5 separate regions of the Homo sapiens genome follow, and regions 1, 2, 3 and 4 are each linked to region 5. The links are contacts of gene promoters, found by promoter capture Hi-C in blood cells and fetal thymus (Javierre and others, 2016). All regions are on one chromosome and are shown on one strand. Each heading gives the region's core, a stretch centred on a gene start or on the middle of the fragment in contact. The rest is flanking DNA. Distances are from core to core; before and after follow the strand shown. Region 1 holds the start of EIF4B (eukaryotic translation initiation factor 4B). Region 2 has its middle 21 kb from the start of KRT8. Region 3 has its middle 7.8 kb from the start of KRT18. Region 4 has its middle 3.7 kb from the start of KRT8. Region 5 holds the start of KRT84 (keratin 84).

Region 1 (4,442 bases), core at 1,119-3,618, 620 kb after region 5:
ATACTTACCGTTATTTCTTGATTATATGGGAAACACGGGGTGGATTATTCATGTTTTCCCTGGAAAGAGGAGGGCGATTCCCGAACTGAGGGTTCCTCCCCCTTCCTCACATTGCCATGGCATCTGTAAACTGTCATGTCCTGGTGGGAGTATCTTTTACCATGCTAACGAATTATATTTAGCATATAATAAGCAGTGAGGAGAGGTCAATTTAGTCGCCATCTTGGTTTTGATGGGATTTGGCTGGCTTCTTTACTGCATGCTGTTTTATGAGCAAGGTCTTTGTGACCTATAACTTGTGTTGACCTCCTGTCTCATCCTGTGATTAAGAATGCCTAACATTCTGGGAATGCAGCCCAGTAGGTCTCAGACTTATTTTACCCAGCCCTATTCAAGGAGTTGCTCCGGTTCAAACACCTCTGACAATTGCACTCTCCATTCAGTAGCCTGAGTAATCTCTTTTTTTCTAATTAACGCGTGACTTACATAAAGTACACAAATCTTAAGTATTCACAAATCTTAAGTATACGAATTCTAGATATACACCCATGTAACCACCACTCACATCAGGATACTAAGTAATCCTTTTTAAAATTTTATTTCAACTCATGACATTTCTCTGCCTTAAATCATTCCACACTTTCCCAATCCCCTCACATGATCAGCCTCACATGATCCAGCCCCTCTCTCTCAAGATTCATCCTGTACCACTCCTCCCTCCCCTGCCCTCACCATATTGCAGCAAACCCAACTGCGCATCCTGTCTTCTCCTAAACCTCTTCAGAAGACATTCCCAGGGATGGCAGCTTGTAATTTAGACCTCTGTCTGAATGTCACTTCCTCAGAGGTCTACTCTGACAGGCAATCTAAAGTTGCACCTAATAACTTATTACACCACCTTGTTTTAATTACTCACAGAATACTTGTTGTAATATTTTATTAGTTGCTTATTATCTGTCCTTCCCCCACTAGAATATAACCTCTTTTGGGACAGTTCTATTCCATGTTGTACCCGCAAGTGTCTGTGCCTGGCACACGGTGGGAAACAAAAATTTTCATTTAATGAATGAAATGGAACATCAGCTAGGGGAAGCATGAATAGCCCTAGTCTCAGAAATCCTAAAGGCCTAAGTTGGACTAAACCTAGTCAGCAAATTGGACCATTAAATGAGGTAAAAGCCCATGACAATTAAGTGTTCAGCATTTGTTACCTTCTTATTCCGTCTAAATATGCCTCATTAAAACCATTCTTACACAAGACGTTCGATTTGTTTTGCCTTTACAAAAAGTAATTTGAAAACAAACAGTGGTTGATGCCTGTAATCCCGGCACTGTGGGAGGCCTCGGAGGGAGGAATGCTTGAGTCCAGGAGTTCGAGACCAGCCCAGGCGACACAGGGAGACACACCGCCCCCCCCAAGCCCGCCACTCTGTCTCCACACAAAGACTTTTTTTTAATTAGCTGGTCCTGGAGGCACTCGCCTGTGGTCCCAGCTACTCAGGAGGCTGAGGTGGAAGAACTGCTTGAGCCCCGGAGGTTGAGGCTGCAGTGAGCCGAGATCGCGCCACTGCACTCCAGCTTGGGAGACAGGGCGAGACCCCGTCTCAAAAAATAAAAATAAATAAAAATAAAATCAGTGATTTCTGATGTGGCTTTTAAAAACTAGGCCGGGCGCGGTGGCTCACGCCTATAATCCAGCACTTTGGGAGGCCGAGGCGGGTGGATAGCCTGAGACCAGGAGTTCAAGACCAGCATGGCCAATATGGTGAAATATCCCGTTTCTACTAAAAATACAAAAAACTAGCAGCGAATGGTGGTGGGCGCCTGTAATCCCAGCTACTCCAGAGGCTGAGGCAGGTGAATCGCCTGAACCCGAGAGGCGGGGGTTGCAATGAGCCGAGGTCGCGCACGCCATTGCACTCCAGCCCGGACAACAGGAGCGAAACTCCGTCTCAAAAAAGTACATTAAACTCAGAATCTTCCCTTTCAGCACATCCATTTCGCCACACCCATCACCGGCTCCGTGCAGAGTAAGCAGAAGCAGCAGCGAAGCCCCGCCCTTCCCGCCACTCTTCCGGCAGGAAGTCTGTGCGTCAGGAGGCCGGCCAGGACTCAGCTCCAGCCCCGCGCTCGCGTGTAGCCCTACGTAAAGCGTGAGGGGTTTCGCGACAACCCAGGCCCCGCCCCTTTGGCCACATGTCGCGCATGTCTTCCCGTCGGACGGCGTGCCACCTCGCCGCGCAGCTTTACGAACCTAGAGCAGCGCCGCCCCGCCTCCTGTCTCCGTCCTCACCTCCCCGCCCCCTCCCAGCTTCGCGTCTCCTAGCTCGACGCGCCCGCTATAATCACGTGATTGCCTCATCCGGGTCTTTTGCGTTCTCTTTCCCTCTCCCAACATGGCGGCCTCAGGTGAGCGAGCAGCCGAGCGCGGCCAAGGACTGGGCTCTGAAACCCCCCTCCGAGCGTGATCCACTGATTTCCTGAAGTCGGGGAATTGCTGGCACTGGTTCCTTTCTGAATTGAGGGCTGCGGCAGGCTGGCGGCGTGGCCCTGTTAGGTTACTGCCTCTGGATGTTTGGGGGGGAGGGGAAGGACACCTTCCCCTCCCCCTCACACTCTTTTCACCCTTTCTGCGCGAGATTGGAATAGGCAGTAATGGTAGACTCTGGCTTGAATTGGGGAAGGAGGCGCAGAAAGGTGTGCGGGTGGTGCGAGGCCTTTTCGTAGACGTGAATCACCGTGCCCGCGTGAAGGCGTGGAGGAAGGAAGGAGGCGGTTGCTGCGCGGACGAGTGCACATTAGACTACGTCTCCAAGGCGCGAGGCTGTAGCGGACCGGAGTGGGGGGTAGGGGAGTAAGTGTGGTGGGGGGGAGCAGTTGGAACGCGAGCGCGAGTTGGTGGAGGGGCGGGGGAAGGCAGCGGTGCGCGTGCGCGGTAGGAGACACGAGGGTAGTAGAGACGGGCGCGCCTTCAATGCGTGCGCTAGAACCCAGATGGGAAGCTTTTTAACGCGCCTGTGTTGCGCACTTATGTCCTTTTAGGTTGTCTCTTCCCTTTCTAGAGTGTGGGCCCTGTGCCTGTATTCTTCTAAGGGTGTGTGTGTTAGCCTTGGAGGTTGGTGCTATTGGCGTTAGATGGGGGTGGGGAATCCAGTTAGGTGCGCCCACGTGTTGGAGAAGCACCGGTGTGCACCTAGATTTCCTTCTAGGCTTTTTTCTCATACTCAATTGGAGGCATTTTTTACTCAGCGCAGCTATATGCCAGGATCAGGTTTCGCTTCCGGCGCTTCCATGTTGGTTGAATTTGGATAGCTCCAATGGTAGATTTCAGCCTTTTTTTTTTTTTTTTTTTTTTTTTTTTAAGGTAACTGTGCAACTACCAGCAGGTACTTTTAAAATAGTGCTTACTAATGGCTGGAGTTGCTTACTTCTTTAGACAACCTTGGAGGGGAGTATCAGTGCCTTGCAAGTCTAATTACATTTCTAATGGGCTTATAAAAGCAGTGATGACCCAACATCTTGTAGCATTGATTTTAGTTTGAGGAATATAGTTTGTTTTCTCTGGCATGACCTTGCATTCTTCAAAACATTATTTGAACTTCTATCTCTGGGTGCTCATTTCTTACCTAGTAATTCATCGTCTCTATTACAAAGAAGCTAAGGGTTTTGGTTGGCTTTGGAAAATGTTGAGAAATTTGAGGTGCATTTGAACATCTTTCATTGGTGTAACGCTTGACAGTTGACCAAGCACTTTTGTGCATGTTGTCTCCTTCCATCCTGAGGTACTGCAGAGAGCTAGTGGTATTTCTCAGCTAAGGAATATTATTTAAGGCCACACTGCTCTCAGCTGGCAGAGCAAGGTCATAATCTTTGAGACTCCTTAGCAACTTAAAAGTATCAAGGTGTCATCATCAGTTTAGGACGCTGCCCGAAAGCATCTGAAGTTTACAAAAATGTTCATATTTTTTTCTCCAGTGGGCTAGTAAAAGTCCTAAATATATTTTAAACTAACCATTGCTTAAAGTACTTACTTGGTCTGGATTTGCCACCTTAACAGTTTAGTATCGTAATTTAGTGAAGAAAATCTGTGTTTTCTTAACTTTTGTGTAATTTTTAGAGGCGGAACATAGGACAGCAATTCATGTCCTTCGTTTTACCGAGTTGAGGGAAATCCAGACTGATAAAAGGGATTTACTCTGACGTCCCATTCTCTTGTTCTTCCATATTTACTCTACCCCCTTGAAAACCCTCATCTCCTTTAATTCACTTCAGTAAATCTTTTTAGCTGGTACTGGTATCTGAGCACAAGTCACATCTTTCAGTCTGTTCTTGAGGAATCTGGGGTTTATCGGATTGTTTCCCCGCTCCTCTTTCCAGTCACACTGGCTTTGTGAAGTAACCAGTATTCCCTGATGTGGGAAATGGATGTTATGTGTTCTGTG
Region 2 (4,207 bases), core at 582-3,081, 540 kb after region 5:
ACAGGCGCCAGCCACCACGCCTGGCTAATTTTTGTATTTTTAGTAGAGACGGGATTTCACCTTGTTAGCCAGGATGGTCTCAATCTCCTGACCTCGTGATCCGCCCGCCTCGGCCTCCCAAAATACTGGGATTACAGGCGTGAGCCACCACGCCCGGCTCTAAATTATTTTTATTACTAATTATTAATTTTTGAAATTATTAAAATTACCTGTATTATTACATTTAAATTAATATGGATTTTAGAGCTTTGAATTGCCTAAAGTGCTTGCAGTGTAGTGAGAAAAGCATTATATATTTTTTTTTTCGAGACGGAGCCTCGCTCTCGCCCAGGCTGGAGTGCAGTGGCATGATCACTGCTCGCTGCAACCTCCGCCTCCCGGGTTCAAGCGATTCTCCTGCCTCAGCCTCCCGAGTAGCTGGGATTACAGGCGCCCGCCACCACGCCTGGCTAATTTTCGTATTTTTTCAGTAGAGACGGGGTTTTACCATGTTGGCCAGGCTGGCCTCAAACTCCTGACCTCAGGTGATCCGCCTGCCTCAGCATGAGCCGAGTTGTGAGCCACCCACCACACCCGGCCAAAAGCATTATACTTAAAATCATACATTAGGCCAGGCGCAGTGGCTCATGCCTGTAATCCCGGCACTTTGGGAGGCTGAGGCAGACAGATCACAAGGTCAGGAAATCGAGACCATCCTGGCTAACACGGTGAAACCCTGTCTCTACTAAAAATACAAAAAAATTAGGCGGGCATGGTGGCGGGCGTCTGTAGTCCCAGCTACTAGGGAGGCTGAGGCAGGAGAATGGCATGAACCCGGGAGGCGGAGCTTGCAGTGAGCTGAGATTGCGCCACTGCACTCCAGCCTGGGCGACAGAGGGAGACTCCGTCTCAAAAAAAAAAAAAAAAATCATACTTGATTTGGGCTCTCAGCTTTTGTTCTCTCATATGTAAAATAAATTAGATTGAGGCTGCAGTGAACTATGACAGGCCACTGCATTCCAGCTTGGGCGACAGAGCCAGACCCTGTCTCAAAAAAATAAATAAAAATTTAAAAATAAAATAAATTATATGATGATAATGTTTGTAAAGATAATTGTAAAGATAATTGTAATTTGTAAAGATAATTGCTTGTATAGGACACTACTGTATAGGACACTACTGTGATGGGAAAAGACCATGCACTCTTCTCTAAGAATTCACCGTTCCTTCTGTCTTTTGCCTTCCTCCCCTCAGCTAAAGGGCTCCTGGAGTGAAGTGGACCCTCAGCTGTACTCTGTGGTCTGCGGCAACAGCCAACGCACAGAGGAGCATCCTCTCCTTAACTAAGCACCGAAAGGGAGTGAAAGGGTAGACTGAAGGAAGGACTTACTAATTCAAGGAGTCATTGGAGCAGAAATGAGTGACCAGGAATGGGGAGGATGCGTCTGTGGAAAAGGAACAGGGCTGGGCCCCCTTCTCACTGGTCCTAGATGGGATCAGGCCTGCCCAGAAGCCAAGAAAAAGATGTTGTATAGACCTCAATGGGGCAAGGCCGGGATGATTGAGGGGATACCTTCAGGGGAGGAGGTGCTAGGCAGTTTTCTGAAAATGGTGCGTTCAGACAGCTCACTATTTCCTGTAGTAATTCCAGGAAAAGACTGAGTAAGACAAGGTCAGGACCGGGAGGAATGCAGCTGGAGGAGGTGTGTATGCACAGTCTCCCCAGGGTGAGCCTGTCCAGAGCCATAAACCTTATCTCCTTCCTCTGAATAGCTGGGATAGCTATCTCTGGCTCCCAGGGGCTCAGGCTGAGTCAGGGCTGGAGGCTGGGAGAGACTGTGGGCCCCGAAGCATACCTAAAACTGTGAGACCACTCAGCACTTAGGTATGAATGGCGCCATTTAGGGTCTGAAATGGTCACCATTTTCAGAAACCTGCTCAACACCTCTTCCCCTGCAGGTATCCCCCTCCGTCATCCTGGCCTTGCCCCATTGATACCTGAAGTGTGGCACATTCAGGAATGAGATTGGAGCAAAAGGGATCTCTTTGGCGGAGGTGGGGTCAAAGAGATAGATTAGGATGATTCATCTCCACAAAGGCTAAGGCTTTAGATTCCTACCAGCCAGCCCCAGGCCAGAAATTTCCCCTTCAAGGAAAGTTGGGCTCCAGGGCTGGGCAATACTATCACCTCAATTATCCCTCTGTTCCTGAGTTCTAGGGTTTATGCACAGTTCTTAATGGGGCCTAATAGTTTCTTTGTCTCTTCCAGCCCTCTATCTTAGAGGACAGGAGGTGGAGCCTACCAACAAAGGGACCCAGGTTCCAGTTCCAGGGCTGCGTTTCTCTCCCCCTCAGGGCCCATTACTCTGAGCTGGGCCCCAGGTAGGGGAGGAAGGAGGAGAAAGGAGGCAGTGTTCTCATGTTCTCTGTGTCCCTGAGAAATTCCCCACCTCCCTTTCAAGCTCCCTCCTAGCAGGCTGGTGAGACCTGCCCTGGAGACAGGCTGGTGCGAGAGGCCCCCTCTGCAGAGTGGAAGGGGGTGACATAATTGCCTGTCCTGAGACTTCTAGACATGTACACACTGTCCCTCTGCCTGGTGTGTCCCTGCCCCCCGCCCCCCACCACCTCTCCTGCTCGCTCAGGTATCCTCTCCAGTGCCCAGCCAGACTGATCTTCTACAAACACTGCTTTGATCCTGTCACTCCCTAGCCCAGAGCTTCCCGTTGCCTTCAGAATAAAGGTCAAATTCCTCATCTGGTGGCTGAGGCTTAGCCTTCCCCACCTGGCACTAGCTGCCCTCCCCACCCCACCCCCAGGACTGTGCCCTCCTCTCCTGAAGCACCTCCTTGTCACCTGCACCTGTTGAAACCTTACCCTTCCTGCAGGTCCTGGCTCCAGCTCACCCCATTCATTCCGCAAACATTTGCTGAATGAAAATCATGCATCAGGCACCTCCCCACAAAGCCTGCCCCAGTCACCTCTGCCGGAAGTGGCCACTCCTATAGAGACCCCAAGAATAGGGCTTTGTTACACCCCTGGGCTGGGTTACACTTGCTGTGGGCATGTCTGAGCTCCCCTCCCTGATTGTAAACCTGATCCACAGTCATTTAGCATGCACTGAACATCCACTATTAATGAGGCATTTTCCATATTTGTCTCATTTGACCCTCACAAGGACCTTGGGAGTTCAGTCTTCTTATCCTTATTTACAGATGAGGAATCCAAGGCTCTAAGAAGTAATGTGCCCAGCAAGTAGTAGTCAGAGCTCAAACCGGAGTCCTGTACCCTAAGTCCAGGGCCCGCACATCAGCGCCAAGGCATCTTCCTCAAAAGTAGGGGCGTGTCTTATACATGTTTCTGCTTCCCTCCACACCCAGCACAGGAACTTGTTTGATTCACTGAATGAATGAATGAATGAATGAATGAATGAATGAATGATTCAATTCTATCCCATGAGTCCTCTTCTCTACTCTGACCCTATCTCCTCTCTCCCACATTGCTTTTTTCCTATCTTCTGTCCCTTACCCTGGACCCCAAGGATTCCCCCCAAGGGAGGAAAGAAGCTGTGATTGTTTCATGGATACCAGAGATGGGAGCTAAGCCTCAGAAGGGTGTCCACAGCCTGGACACACCCCAGGGAGGAGATTCAGGACAGGAAGACCCCTTCACCTTCACCACCACTCAGTTTGATAGACCCAGGAGAGTTCCAGTCCTTCTCTCCACCCCTCCCCAACTCCAGCAGGAAATAGGTGGGCCCAAGGGAGCAGCAGGACAAGCCAGAGAACAGTGAGAGGGTGAAGAGGGGCCCAGATTCAGTGACTCACCACCCTTGGGCCTCCCCTGGGGAAAGGGTGGGGAGCCTGGACACTTGGAATTCCTGCCTGTCCCTAGGGAGACACTTGGGTGTTAGGAGGCTGAACAGGAGGAGGAAGAGCTCTGTTTGTCCCAAACTAAGGGGTGGCCATGGCAACAAGGCCAGAGCCATCAGGGCTGGGAGCAAAGGTCCTGGCCAGGGGTGGAGTCGCGAGGGCCCTGCTGCCTGCCTGCCAACTGGGCCACTGTCCACACCATGCCAGCCAGGCCTTCTCTGACTGAGCACCCCCTTGTGGGCAGAGCCGAGCCTGAAATCTGGGGATGGGCAGTCCTGAGGGGGAAGCCACCTGCTTTACAGACACACATGTTCTTGTCCTCTCCCAGTCCCTCCATGTGTCTTCTCAACTGCAACCAG
Region 3 (4,364 bases), core at 1,074-3,573, 570 kb after region 5:
ACCCAGGAGGTGGAGGTTGCAATAAGCCGAGATCATGCCATTGCACTCCAGCCTGGGCAACAAGAGCGAAACTCTGTCTCAAAAAAATATATATATATAATATATATATGTGTGTGTATGTATATATGTGTGTATATATGTATATATGAGTATATGTGTATATATGAGTATATGTGTATATATGTGTATATGTGTATATACATATGTGCATATATGTGTGTGTATATGTGTGTATGTATATATATACATATATACATACATATATATATATATATACATACACACATACACACACACACACATATATATGAAATAAAATTTAAAATCTTGCTGGGCATGGTGGCTCATGCCTGTAATCCCAGCACTTTGGGAGGCCAAGGTGGGTGGATCATCTGAGGTTGGGAGTGGAGAAACTCTGTCTCTACTAAAAATACAAAATTAGCCAGGCGTGATGGCGCATGATTGTAATCCTATCTACTTGGGAGACTGAGGCAGGAGAATCGCTTGAACCAAGGAGTTGGAGGTTGCAGTGAGACGAGATCGAGCCACTGCACTCCAGCCTGGCAACAGAGCAAGACTCTGTCTCAAAAAAAAAAAAAAAAAAAATAGCCATGCGTAGTGGCATACACCTGTAGTCCCAGCTACTTGGGAGGCTGAGGCAGGAGATTTGCTTGAACCCAGCAGGCAGAGGTTGCAGTGAGTGAAGATCGCGCCACTGTACTTCAGCCTGGGTGACAGAACAAGACTCCATCTCAAATAAATAAATAAATAAAACTAAATAAAATAAAATCTCCCCTCTCCACTCCCTAGAAGTAACCACTGTTAAATACCTTTTAAAATTAGACATATACAAGCACATTTCATTATGTTTTATATATGTAAAATTATCCAGCTCTGCATCTTGATTTCTTTTTTTATTTTTTTTTAATTGAGACAGAGTCTCACTCTGTCGCCCAGGCTGGAGTGCAGTGGCACCATCACGGCTCACTGCCACCTCTGCTTCCCGGGTTCAAGCGATTCTCCTGCCTCAGCCTACTGAGTAGCTGGGATTACAGGCACCCACCACCACGCCTGGCTAATTGTTGTATTTTTAGTAGAGACAGGGTTTCACCATGTTGATCAGGCTGGTCTCGAACTCCTGACCTTGTGATCCACCTGCCTCGGCCTCCCAAAGTGCTGGGATTACAGGCGTGAGCCACCATGCTTGGCTTTGATTTCTTAAATTCTACTTTCTTCATTTAACAATACGTCTCGGGGCTGGGCATGGTGGCTCATGCCTGTAATCCCAGCACTTTGGGAGGCTGAGGCGGACAGATCACGAGATCAGGAGATCGAGACTATCCTGGCTAACACAGTGGAACCCCATCTCTACTAAAAATGCAAAAAAAATTAGCTGGGCATGGTGGCGGGCACCTGTAGTCCCAGCTACTCTGGAGGCTGAAGCAGGAGAATGGAATGAACCTGGAAGGCGGAGCTTGCAGTGAGCCGAGATTCCACCACTGCATTCCAGCCTGGGCAACAGAGCAAGACTCTGTCTCAAAAAATAAAAATAAATGAAAATACATCTTGGACACCTTTCTGAATCAGTATACATAGACCTGCCCCATTCATTTGAGTAGCTGCTTAGTACTCTACTGCGTGGAGTACAAATTAATTAACCTAACCTAGGTCTTTAAGTAATGGATGTCTTGATCTTTTTTTTTTTTTTTTTTTTTTTGAGACAGAATCTCACTCTGTCGCCCAGGCTGGAGTACAGTGCTATGATCTCAGCTCACTGCAACCTCTCCCTCCTGGGTTCAAGTAATTCTCCTGGCTCAGCCTCCCGAGTAGCTGGGACTACAGGTGCATGCCACCATGCCCAGCTAATTTTTAGTATTTTAGTAGAGACAGGGTTTCACCGTGTTGCCAAGGCTGGCCTCGAACTGAGCTCAGGCAATCCACCAGCCTTGGCCTCCCAAAGTACTGGGATTACAGGCATGAGCAACCACGCCCAGCCTAAAAGCTTTTTCTTTTCTTTTTTTTTTTTTTTTGACAGAGTCTCACCCTGTCGCTCAGGCTGGAGTGCAATGGCACGATCTTGGCTCACTCCAACCTCTGCCTCCCAGGTTCAAGCGATTCTCCTGCCTCAGCCTACTGAGTATCTGGGATTACAGGCACCCTCCACCATGCCCAGCTAATTTTTTGTATCTTTTAGTAGAGACGGGGTTTTCACCATGTTGATCAGGCTGGCCTTGAACTCCTGACCTCGTGATCCACCTGCCTCGGCCTCCCAAAGTACTCGGATTATAGGTGTGAGCCACCGTGCCTGGCCATCTTGATCTTTAGTAGCTTTGTTTTTGCAAAAAACAGACACCAGCCAACGTTATAGGATGCGCAGCTGACTGAAGGTAAAACAGGAAGTCCCTGGGGAGCCTGAGCAGTACTTGCAGCTGAGTCAAGCTGATCAGAGTAATCCAAGACGATGCACCTGATACGATTAGCCCTCCCATTAGACAATGTCTCACAGTTCCCAGGGTGCTTATGCATTTGATCCTCATTACAATCCTGTGAGGTATGCAAGGCTGTGGGTATTATTGGCTCTGGCTCTGAGAGTTGGATACTGAGGTCCACAGGCATCATGCAACTTGTCTGAGGTCACAGAGCTGGAAGCTTAAAGCAGGAACCACATCTCCAGGTTCCCAGTCCGCAGGTCTTTCCTCTGTGTGCTATAACTTAACTGTGCGGGCTGCACAATAGAATCCCCGGGAAGCTTTACAAACAATACTGAGGCCTGGGTCCCAGCACCAGAGATTCTGATTCAGGTGTTTGGAGGGCAGGACTCAGGGCAAATGTTTGAAAAGCTCCCTAGGTGACTCCAATAGGCAGGCAAGGTTGGGGGCCAGACCCAAGCTGTACCTGGGGTTTGCAGCATGACATTCCTTCCTGATTCAGGTTATGGTTGTGTCAGATTTATTTATTTATTTATTTATTTATGAGACTCTGTCACCCAGGCTGGAATGCAGTGGTGCGATCTTGGCTCACTGCAACCTCCGCCTCCTGGGTTCAAGTGATTCTCCTGCCTCAGCCTCCCAAGTAGCTGGGATTACAGGTGCACGCCACCACGCCTGGCTAATTTTTGTATTTTTAGTAGGGACAGGGTTTCACCATGTTGGTCATGCTGGTCTTGAACTCCTGACCTCATGATCCGCTCGCCTCGGCCTCCCAAAGTGCTGAGATTACAGGTGTGAGCCACTGTGCCAGGCTGGCTGTGCCTATTTTAAACAGCGCACTGCTGGAAAATCCCGAGGCCTCTGGAACAATCCTACTCATTCCCCAGCATGGGAAGATGACTGAGGGGCAGCCTATTTTGTCCCCCAAGCACCAAAGGTTAAAATTATCAATCCCAAGGTTATAACATGGAGTCATCTGTTCCATATTATATCAGTCCTATTTTATCCATTCTCTATCAAAGTGCAACCCAACCCAGATGATAAAATTAATAAATGGTACTGGAAGATACAGAATGGCATATAGTGCCATTTGAGGGAAAAAAGCAACTCATATGTATATACCCTTGTACATGCAAACATCTCTACAAGGAGACAGGAAATTGGAATTCGTGATTGCCTCCGGGGAGAGAAATTGGTAGGGGGGAAACAAGGGGGAAGGAAGACTACTTTACATTGTGTGTCCTTTTATACCTTCTGAATTACTTATTACTAATTACAAAGAAAGCAGGGAAGGATTGTTAACTTTCCTTTTTTTTTTTTTTTTTTTTTTTTTTTTTTTTTGAGACGGAGTCTCGCTCTCGCCCAGGCTGGAGTGCAGTGGCGCGATCTCGGCTCACTGCAAGCTCCGCCTCCCAAGTTCACGCCAGTCTCCTGCCTCAGCCTCCCAAGTAGCTGTGACTACAGGCGCCCGCTACCATGCCCGGCTAATTTTTTTGTATTTTTAGTAGAGATGGGGCTTCACTGTGTTAGCCAGGATGGTCTCGATCTCCTGACACCGTGATCCGCCCGCCTCGGCCTCCCAAAGTGCTGGGATTACAGGCGTGAGCCACCACGCCCGGCCGATTGTTAACTTTTCAATGGTACAGGAATCTACAGAATTCCAGGGAAGGAAATGTTGCTGCTGTCTTTGTTCCACTCTTTTTTATTTCTTTTTTCTTTCTTTTTTTTTTTTTTTTTTTTTTTTTTGAGACAAGTCTTGCTCTGTCACCCAGGCTGGAGTACAATAGCACGATCTCAGCTCACTGCAACCTCCACCTCCCAATTCTCATGCCTCAGCCTCCCAAGTAACTGGGATTGCAGGTGCACACTACGCCTGGCTAATTTTTTGTATTTTTAGTAGAGGCACCATGCCTGGCTCCACCATATTCTTTCAAT
Region 4 (4,568 bases), core at 402-2,901, 520 kb after region 5:
GTTGGAGATTGGGGAGCTGAGCAAGGCACCCCAGGCCTGGGTGGGGCCAGGCAGGGCATGCTGTGGGTGGAAGGCAGGAGGTTTAGGTCCCCAAGGCAGAGATTCCACCTGCAATTACCTGATGGCTGGGGCTGGGTTCTCTGGAAGATACTGCAGGGTGTGATGTGGGGACTGGATGAAACTGAACTCAGAGGACCAACAGATGACAGCCAGATCCCCTTGAGGAGAGGGACAGGTGACATAGCCCTGACCCAGGGAAGGGGGTGACCACCTACTGGGAGGACAGATGTACAGTTTCTTCCCCATCCTTCTCTAGGAGAGACACCCAGGCTCACAGAAAGACAGGCACATAGGACCCCTACCCAGAAGGACAGAGAGACCCAGAAGCCCCCTCCTTGGAGGACAGACAAACTTAAAAAGACAGACACACAGACAAGCTCTCTTCACAATGCACGCGTGCATACACACACACACACACACACACCCCACACATTGAAGTCCCTTCCAGAAAAATGCATAGATCCCAAGAGCGGGCACAGTGAGTGGCTCCTTCACCTCCCCTCCCCTCCCCAGGCCCTGCCTCCTGCTATGCTGAATGGAGCAAGGGAAATTCAGTTAGCACCTATTTACACCAGGCCTTCTCCCAGCTCCTTTAAACAATGCCTAATTTTCCCAAGAGTGATTGGAAGGCATGCTACCCCCTCCCCAACAAACACCCGCACCCACCAGGGCTGAGAAGCTTTTAACAGAAGACCAAAGGGAGAAGGACTGGGCCCAGTGCCAAACCTGGGACAGGGAAGGCGGAAGGAGGGAGGGAGGGGCTGGTCAGACGGGTATGGCAGCCCTGGAAAGGGAGGACAGGCGCTCTCCCTATCTTCCCTCCCCCACGCTGCTGTTAGAGGGAGCAGGGGGCACTCAGGTCCTGATCTAGGCAGCACAAGGAGCAAAAAAACAGCACCCCAAAGCCTTTCCTGAAATTCCAGTCCCCTCCACCCCACCTTTCTGGTTCCCTGGTTCTAGGAGTGTCCCTTGTTTAAGGTGAGGACAGAGGGGGTTGCCAGGGACCCTGCAGTATGCAGGCTGGAGGGCTGACCCAGACCTTACCCAGCCAGGGGAAGCCCTTTTTTTCTGGGGCAGCCCAGAACCGTCTAGGGCCAGAAGTGTTTGTGTCTCATTTGTCATCTCTCTATTGCCCAGAGACCCCAGCCAAACCTTCCCCCAGATGCCCCAAGCACAGCCTCGGTGCAGGAGAAGAGGCCAGAGTTGGCCTCTCTGATGGCCCCTGCCTGGGACTTCAGGGTTAAAGGCAGAAGGAGAAGGCCCCTGGGACTAGGGCCAAGTGGTGAGGGAAGAGAGAACCAGACTGGAGCAGGCCCACAGGTACAACTCCTTGTAAGGCATTGTGGTCTACACACAGCTGCCTGCCGGACAAAAGGGAACAACGTGTTTGCGGTGCCTGCCCTACCCAGACAACTCTGCCTCAAACCGCCTTTCCTGGAGAGTGAACCAGGGAAGGAGGAGACACTCACTCCCTGTGGGCCAAGAGTGAGGGCCAGGCCCCCTACTTCTGATGGTGCAGGATAATTCAGAGAAGGCCCTGAGACCCTGAGCAGTGGCATTAAGTCTTGGGGCCAGTGGGGTGGGGAGGTAGCTGTTATCATCACTCATGATCATGGGAAGAGATGGTCTGAACAAGTTTTTTTTTTTCTTTTTTGAGACGGAGTCTCGCTCTGTCACCCAGACTGGAGTGCAGTGGCGCAATCTCGGCTCACTGCAAGCTCCGCCTCCCGGGATCTGAACAAGTTTTGCTTAGAGATCAGGACTGATGATCTCATTCGCTGCAACCTTGTTCATAATAGCCAAAGAGTGGGAACAAAACAAATGTCCACCAAATGACGAATGGATTTCTTTAATGTGGCATATCCATACGATCTAATGTTACAATTAAAAGGAATGAACTACTGATGCATGTTGGATGCAGATGAGCCTTGAAACCCGTATGCTCAGTGAAAGGAGACAGTCATAGAAGATCAGGTACCCTATGATTCCATTTATATGACATGTGCACAACAGGCAAAGCATAGAGACAGGAAGTAGATTAGTGGTTGCCTAGGGAGGGGAGGAATGGAGATGAATGCTAAAGAGCACAGGGTTTCTTTCTGGGGTGATGAGAATGTTCTAAATTTGATGGTGGTGGGCAGGCACAATGGCTCTACCTATAATCCCAGCACTTTGGGAGGTCGAGGCAGGAGGATTACTTTAGCCCAGGAGTTTGAGACCAGCTGAGCAACATAATGAGACCCCCGTCTCTACAAAAAATACAAAAATTAGCCAGGTATGGCGGCACACGCCTGTAGTCCCAGCTGCCCTGGAGGCTGAGTTGTGAGGATCACCTGAGCCCCGAAAGTTGAGGCCGCATGCATTGAGCCAAGACTGTGCCACTGCACTCTAGCCTGCGTGGGAGACAGAGTGAAACTCTGTCTCAAAAATAAATAAATAAATAAACAAATTTGATGATGGTGAAGCTGCACAAGTCTGTGAACATACTAAAAATCACTGAACTGCAAGCTTCAGATTGTTGAATTATATTGTATGTGAATTACAGCTCAACAAAGTTGTAACAAAAAGATAACCACAAAAGCATAAATGAGCTACATATAAAAAGCAGGGGCTTTGTGCCCAGCATAAGGGGTCAGGGGAAAGAAGCAAAGAGTTTGTTTAGATGCCCCAGGTAAAGAGGCTTCCTGCCTCTGGGTTAAGGCAATGCCCGAAAAGCACCCGAAATCCCTTTAAATGATGGAGCATTTTGAAATGTTATTATTGGTATAGAAATAGCTGCATTTAGCATAGAGACAGCAGAACAATTTGTTTAAATAGGAAGCCACAGGTGGTGGGTACACCCCTCAGGAAGCAGCATCATGAATAATAGAGTCAATTCGATTGCTAATTTTGTGTTATGTGCCTCAAGGCTAAAATTTTTCATTGTCAAAGCTTAGCAAATGCTGACTTTTTTGCTCTTGATCAGTGATGGATCTGATGATTAAAGCCAGCCAGGATGGAAATGGACTGCCTAGAGAGGGAGCAACCTCCTGTACCTGGAGACATGGAGAGGGACCTTGCTCACCAGCTGTCCACTGGCTCAGTGGGAGGGGGTTCTCACATCTGCTAGGGTTTGAATTAGAATGTCCAAGTCCCGCCAACTCTGAAAGCTTTTGATCCACATCCACCACCATAGAGCTTTACGCACTGAAGATGAAAATCTGTGAATGTTCTCTGGTTTGAAATTTTGCTTGTGATAAGAGATATGATTAGAAATTATTAGAACAAGAGTGAGGGAGGACAGCACAGCCTTGTTGTGGAGGAAGGAGACACAAGCCCAGCAGCCTGAAGATGTTGAGGTCTCCCACACTTTTTTTTCTTTTTTTTAGAGACAGGATCTCACTATGTTGCCCAGCCTGACTCGAACTCCTGGATGCAAGCAATCCTTCTGCCTCAGCCTCCCAAAGTACTAGGGTTACAGCGTGAGCCACTGCACACAGCCTTTCTCACATTTTCAACATTCTCTCACCCTCCTCTCCACTGATGCCAAACCAAGAAGGTCATCCCACTGGGTGAGCATGAAGCCTAGGCGGAAGGTCCCAGCTATGGCTCAGTCCACAGAGTCCTTCCCCTTAACTCTGGTTCTCCATCACATCAAGATCGCCCGTGGGAGATTATAACAGTATACGTGCTCAGGTCGCACCCCGTCTGCATTTTCAAAGCTTCCTCGGTACAGCCAGAGTCAGGCACCAGGCTTTAGCTCTGGTCCCAACACCAAGACCTTTAGGAACACACTTTCTTCCTCTTCCCAGAGGAAATAGGCCAGAGCTCAAATCCACAGCACTGCAGGTTCCTGCTTAGAAAGGGTGATATACTCTGTCCCTCAGGAAGGAAAACAGAGTGGTTCAGTCCCCAGAACCTGAAACTCCACCACCGTTGGCCAGGGCCACAGAGACAGAGACAGAGACTGCGAGAGGACAGACACAAATGGGTCCCACTCCTGACAGTGAAGACAGCGGTACTGGGGACTTGAGTGACAGGAAGTGGAAGTTATTGAGAGGATTTCAAGGAAACTTCAGAAGCTGACATTGCGATAGGGGAAGCCCTCATGGTGTTCAGGCAACCGGACAGGAGTGCAGGAAAAGAACAAACAGGAAGGACCTGGGGCTCCGCTATAGGCATCCTGCCCACCCCCACCCCAGCCCTGAGGATTCCCCTGGCCTGAGCTGCTTAGCACTGGAGCTGATATCCAGAGGCCCACTGTTTTGATTTTCCTGCTGGGCAACCTGAGGACTAAGGTGGGAGTTGGGGACAGGGACTAGAGGCCTTTATTCCTTCCTGTATTCACCTTTTCATTTATCCACATATTTGCTTATCAGGCAGTAGTCTAAAAAATTTCAGGAGATGAAGTATTTGGGTCCTCTCAAACCAAAGGAGGTAGGAGTCTCCTTTGACCAAGGCAAGGTATTTCCTGAAAGTCCCTGTTGAGAAGTGACCATCAGGCCAGACGTGGTGGCTCACACCTGTAA
Region 5 (4,332 bases), core at 157-2,656:
GATATTCCATTGGCTATGTGTAGAGCTGGAAGAGAACTTACAGACCCTTTACCCCAGCCCCTCATTTTAGAGAGGAAGAACCCAAAACTTACAGAGGTTATCCTTCATTCTCAGACATAACCATTCCATCTCCACATAGACATGGTGTGTGGGATGTCAGTTCTTTTGGGTTATCCACATCACTGTTCCCACTCATCTGCCTGGAAGCCAGTGACTACCAGTGGTCATTCCCTGCAATTTCCCTGAATCTAGGCAACTTGGCCGAATTTTGATACCCCATGTGGGGGTATGAATTCTTCTTCTTTTTTTAATTACTCAACTCCATTCTCTACTTTTCTAAGCCTGAATAGATGAGGCCACTCAGCCTCAGAAACTATGAAAACTTCATAAGGAACAAAAGGATCTCAAAGAATAAAACCTCTTAAGCATATACCAGCCAACACCTGGCTAAAGTCCCAGTGTTTCCAGCCTGTTTCAGAGACATTTCTAAGTGACCAGATGCAACATCTTAGTTTGTCGAGATGCCCTCGAGTTTGGCTGGATGCTCCTCTGTCCTCCAGAAGATATCAACACTGTCGGAATCTATCCCACCATGCAGCTCGTCCTCTGGCTTGGCCTTGCTCTGCAGCAGAGCAACCCATAAAGCATACCACAATGCCTGAGGTAGGCACTTGAAAGATCTGAGGTCAAGGTCAAGTCCCCAGAACCGGGCCAGTTCTTTTTAAGGGAAAGAGCACTCTAGCGCATTTTGGCTGTAATATTCCTAGACCCAGAGATTCAGCTATCATAGGTACCTTGTCAATGAAGGAGGCAAACTTGTTGTTGAGGGTCTTGATTTGCTCCTTCTCATCCTTCTTCACCCTCTGGGCATTGGGGTCAATCTCCAGGTTGAGGGGGGTCAGTAGGCTCTTGTTCACAGTCACAGCTGTGATAGATGGGGCTGCTGGGACTCCAACCCCTCCAACTCTGTAACCAAAGCCAGGGCCACCAAAGCCATAGCCAATGCCACTGCCAGCTCCAAAGCCCAGACCAACACAGCTGTCAGCCCTAGGCCCCAGACCAACACCTCTCCCATCACCAAAACCCATCCCACAGCCAGCACCAAAGCGGACTCCACAGTGGATGGGCCGAGAGCCTACAGCTGCTATCCGGGGTGAGTACGATCCAAAGGTGATGACACTCCGACTACCAAAGCTGCCAAGGCCCCGGAATCCAGGCCCACTCCAACAGGAGACAGAGTTGGCCCGGAAGCGATTCAGGTTCTGTGGTGTCATTGCTGAACAAGAGCTGAAGTTGCCCACCCGGTGACCAGAGCTGACTCGGTAGGAGCGGCAAGACATGATGGCTTCCTGGTTGGGAGCAAAAGAGCAAGTGTAGAATGGGTGAGCTGGAGCTGGGAGTCCCTCTGAGGCCAGTGGAACCCTTGCACCCCTTTTATGTGTGTGGTGATCTGAGGCTTGGCCCCATAAAAATGAAAAAATCCATTTGCAGGCATTTATGAGCTTGGGTAGTTAGCAGAAACTCTGCATGCCTATAACCTCCTTGACAATGAGTTAACTCAGACACACCTAGTCTCATTGGGATGAGGGCTGTAACAGCAAACCAATAAACATTAAAAACACATAAACATATAAACATTATAGTCTTTTTTTTCCCTATAAGTCTACCACAATTGCCATTAAGGGGACATTAATTTGCTTTGGTCATAAATGCAATAGGTTTTTTCACTGTGAGTGTGGCTAACCACCAGAAAGTTAGGATGGCGACAGCTCCAGCAAGAGGCTCACATGGGATGCATCCATGAAGATATAACCCCCTAAAGAGGTGGGAGTGTGTGCACATCTCCAAGTAAGAAGTGATATGGAGAAAATACAGTTTGTTGCATTTCTGCAAATCAATTAAATCATCAAAAAACCTTCTGCCATGTTTTATCCAATATGGCTGTTTAGTATACAAGAGTTGAATCTACAGTAAAGCTCATTTGGGCTAGTGTAGACACATCTGTGATTTGAGACACTCAGAGATATTCATTCATTCTACAGTTTTAGAGTGCCTGCTATGTATCCAGCAGTGTGCTTGCTGCTGAGGGTACAGAGATTACAAAGACAGTCTCTATCTTCATGGTAGTAGGGGAAGATTTATCTTAAATTTTTTTTTTTTTTTTAGAGACATGATCTAGTTGCCCAGGCTGGTCTTGAACTCCTGGGCTCAAGTGATCCTCCCGCCTCCGCCTCCCAGATAGCTGGGACTACAGGCATCCACCACCATGCCCAGCAGAACATTTATCTTGAGGATTTCCAGCAGTCAACACTTTGTGGCATGATTTGAGGCCAAAGCATTGGAAAGTTTCTGTATAGAAAGCTAACTACATGATTTTTAGCCCCCAAATATACCATAGGTGTGATTTATGGGCCTGTCCATTTAGGTTCCTTGAATTATTGATGAATCTTTGGTTAGGATAGAGAGACACAAAGCAATATACATCTGGATAGAAAAGGAAAAGTTCTCAGCAGCTGAATATTATCATTGTTAGCAATATTGCAGCTCTTTTAGGACCCTGAGCCAGGCTGGTGTTTACCTTTTCTATTCTAGTGCATCCTTTGCCCAGGGGAACTCATGTTTGACTGGACGCTTGAGATTCTTTGGGATGCTTGCAATTCCACTTGGAAGGGGATGTATGCTTTTGACCAGAAGCATCCAGCTCATTTGTGCGGTATTTTCTTTTTCCAGCTATCAGCTGTATGTCTAAGGGGGAAATGAAGCAGAAAAACAATAAGAAGTGCATACTTCTCGTCAAGACCACCAGTGGCCTCCATGTTAAATTCAATGGTCTGTCCTCAGTTCTCACTTTCTTCACATAGCTGACCATGCCCTTTCTCTTGAAACACGCTCTTCTTTTGATTTTCGGACACTACACTCTCTCGATTTCTTGCCACACTCTTTTCAGTCTTCTAAGCCAGTTCCTCCTCATATCCCCAACCTCTAGACACTGCAGAGTCCCTGGCTCAATCCTTGGGTATCTATTCTCTTCTTTAGACTCATTGCCTTGGTGATATTATACAGACTCAGGACTTTAAATACCATCTGTTCATTCATGACTGCCAAGGCACAACTCTATCCCAGACCTCCCTACCCCTAAACGCCACACATATATTTTAACCAACATCTCTATTTGGATATCAGATAGGCATCTCAAACTTAATACAGTTGTCCCTTGGTATCCCCAGGTAGTTGGTTCCAGGACCCCTTGTGGATACCAAAATCCATGGATGTTCGTCGAGCCTCCGATATACAATGGTGTAGTATTTGCATGTAACCCACACACATCCTTCTGTATACTTGAAATCATCACTGGATTATAATACCTAATACAATGTAAATGCTATGTAAATAGTTGTTATACTTTATTGACAAGAAAAAAGTCCGTACTTGTTCAGCACAGATGCAATTTTTTTAAGAGTTTCAATCTGCAGTTGGTTGAATCCACAAAGGTGGGAGCCACAGATACAGAGGGATGACTTTATGACCAAAACTGTTCTCCTAATTGTTCCTGCTAAATATGTTCCACTTGCCAACATCACTATCTCTGCAATAGTTCATGCCAGAAATCTTGGAGTCATCCTTTTGTCCTCTGTTTTTTATTTCCCTTTTCCCACATTCAATTCATTGGCAAATTCTCCCTTCAAAATATATCCAGACTCCTACTCCTTCTCACCATCCTGCTGCTCCCATGCTGGCCCAGGCCCATCTCTTCCCACAGGATCTTCTGAACTACACTCCCAGCTGGTCTCCCAGCTTCCTCCCTTGCCCCTTCAGGCTTTTCTTAGCAGCACAGAGTGATCCTTTAAAAACATGTCAGATCATGCCATTTCCATGCCGAAACTCCTCCCATGGTTTCCCACCCATTCAGAGTCAATGCCCTGTAAGACACTATGCAGTGTGCCTCCCTCTTCCCTGACCTCATCCCCTCCACCTGTCCCGCTGCCCACTCTGTTGCAGCCACTTGAGCATCCTGGCTGTCCATCAAACAGGCAGAATGACTCCTGCCTCGAATGCTTACCCCCTTGCTGTTTTCTCTGCTGGGAACCTTTTTCCTCAAATAGCTGTATGGCTGGGTCCCTCAACTCTTCCAGGGCTTTGTTCATATGTCATCCTCTTAGCTTCTATTGGAAACTCCCTGTCCTCCCTGTACACCTGCCCCGCTTCCTTGTCGCCTTAGCATTTACAGCCATCTGAGGTCCTCTTCTTGGGTGGATTTGCCTGTTGTTGTCGTTGACTTGTACTGGCTGGAGCAAAGCTTTAGGAGGCAGACACTGCTGTGCATTTTGCTCT

What was found. The method cuts DNA at HindIII sites, captures the fragments that hold promoters and counts their contacts. A CHiCAGO score of 5 or more calls a contact.
Region 1: the fragment with the promoter of EIF4B here is called in contact with the fragment with the promoter of KRT84 in region 5 in 3 of 17 cell types (erythroblasts, M2 macrophages and M0 macrophages); the score reaches 7.5 in erythroblasts.
Region 2: a fragment that was not itself captured here is called in contact with the fragment with the promoter of KRT84 in region 5 in 5 of 17 cell types (M2 macrophages, M1 macrophages, naive CD8 T cells and 2 more); the score reaches 9.4 in M2 macrophages.
Region 3: a fragment that was not itself captured here is called in contact with the fragment with the promoter of KRT84 in region 5 in 4 of 17 cell types (M0 macrophages, M2 macrophages, erythroblasts and 1 more); the score reaches 7.8 in M0 macrophages.
Region 4: a contact is called between a fragment that was not itself captured here and the fragment with the promoter of KRT84 in region 5, in 3 of 17 cell types (M0 macrophages, M1 macrophages and M2 macrophages). The highest score is 8.4, in M0 macrophages.

What each region holds. Positions count from the first base shown.
Region 1 is chr12:53,004,088-53,008,529 of GRCh38, forward strand. EIF4B (eukaryotic translation initiation factor 4B) reads left to right here and starts at 2,369. Exons shown (of 15, transcript NM_001417.7): 1 at 2,369-2,409. The coding sequence starts at 2,397. RefSeq lists enhancers at 1,740-2,483, 2,484-3,227. The HindIII fragment of the contact is 14,247 bases long and covers 1-3,000 here.
Region 2 is chr12:52,923,559-52,927,765 of GRCh38, forward strand. It overlaps a transcript of KRT8 not described here. Among named protein-coding and RNA genes, the nearest start is that of KRT8, 21 kb to the left of the region's middle. The HindIII fragment of the contact is 7,195 bases long and covers 1-4,207 here.
Region 3 is chr12:52,954,702-52,959,065 of GRCh38, forward strand. No RefSeq gene overlaps it. Among named protein-coding and RNA genes, the nearest start is that of KRT18, 7.8 kb to the left of the region's middle. The HindIII fragment of the contact is 647 bases long and covers 2,001-2,647 here.
Region 4 is chr12:52,906,530-52,911,097 of GRCh38, forward strand. It overlaps a transcript of KRT8 not described here. Among named protein-coding and RNA genes, the nearest start is that of KRT8, 3.7 kb to the left of the region's middle. The HindIII fragment of the contact is 1,829 bases long and covers 738-2,566 here.
Region 5 is chr12:52,384,246-52,388,577 of GRCh38, forward strand. It overlaps KRT84 (keratin 84), which reads right to left and starts at 1,407. Exons shown (of 9, transcript NM_033045.4): 1 at 795-1,407. The coding sequence starts at 1,340. The HindIII fragment of the contact is 9,508 bases long and covers 1-4,295 here.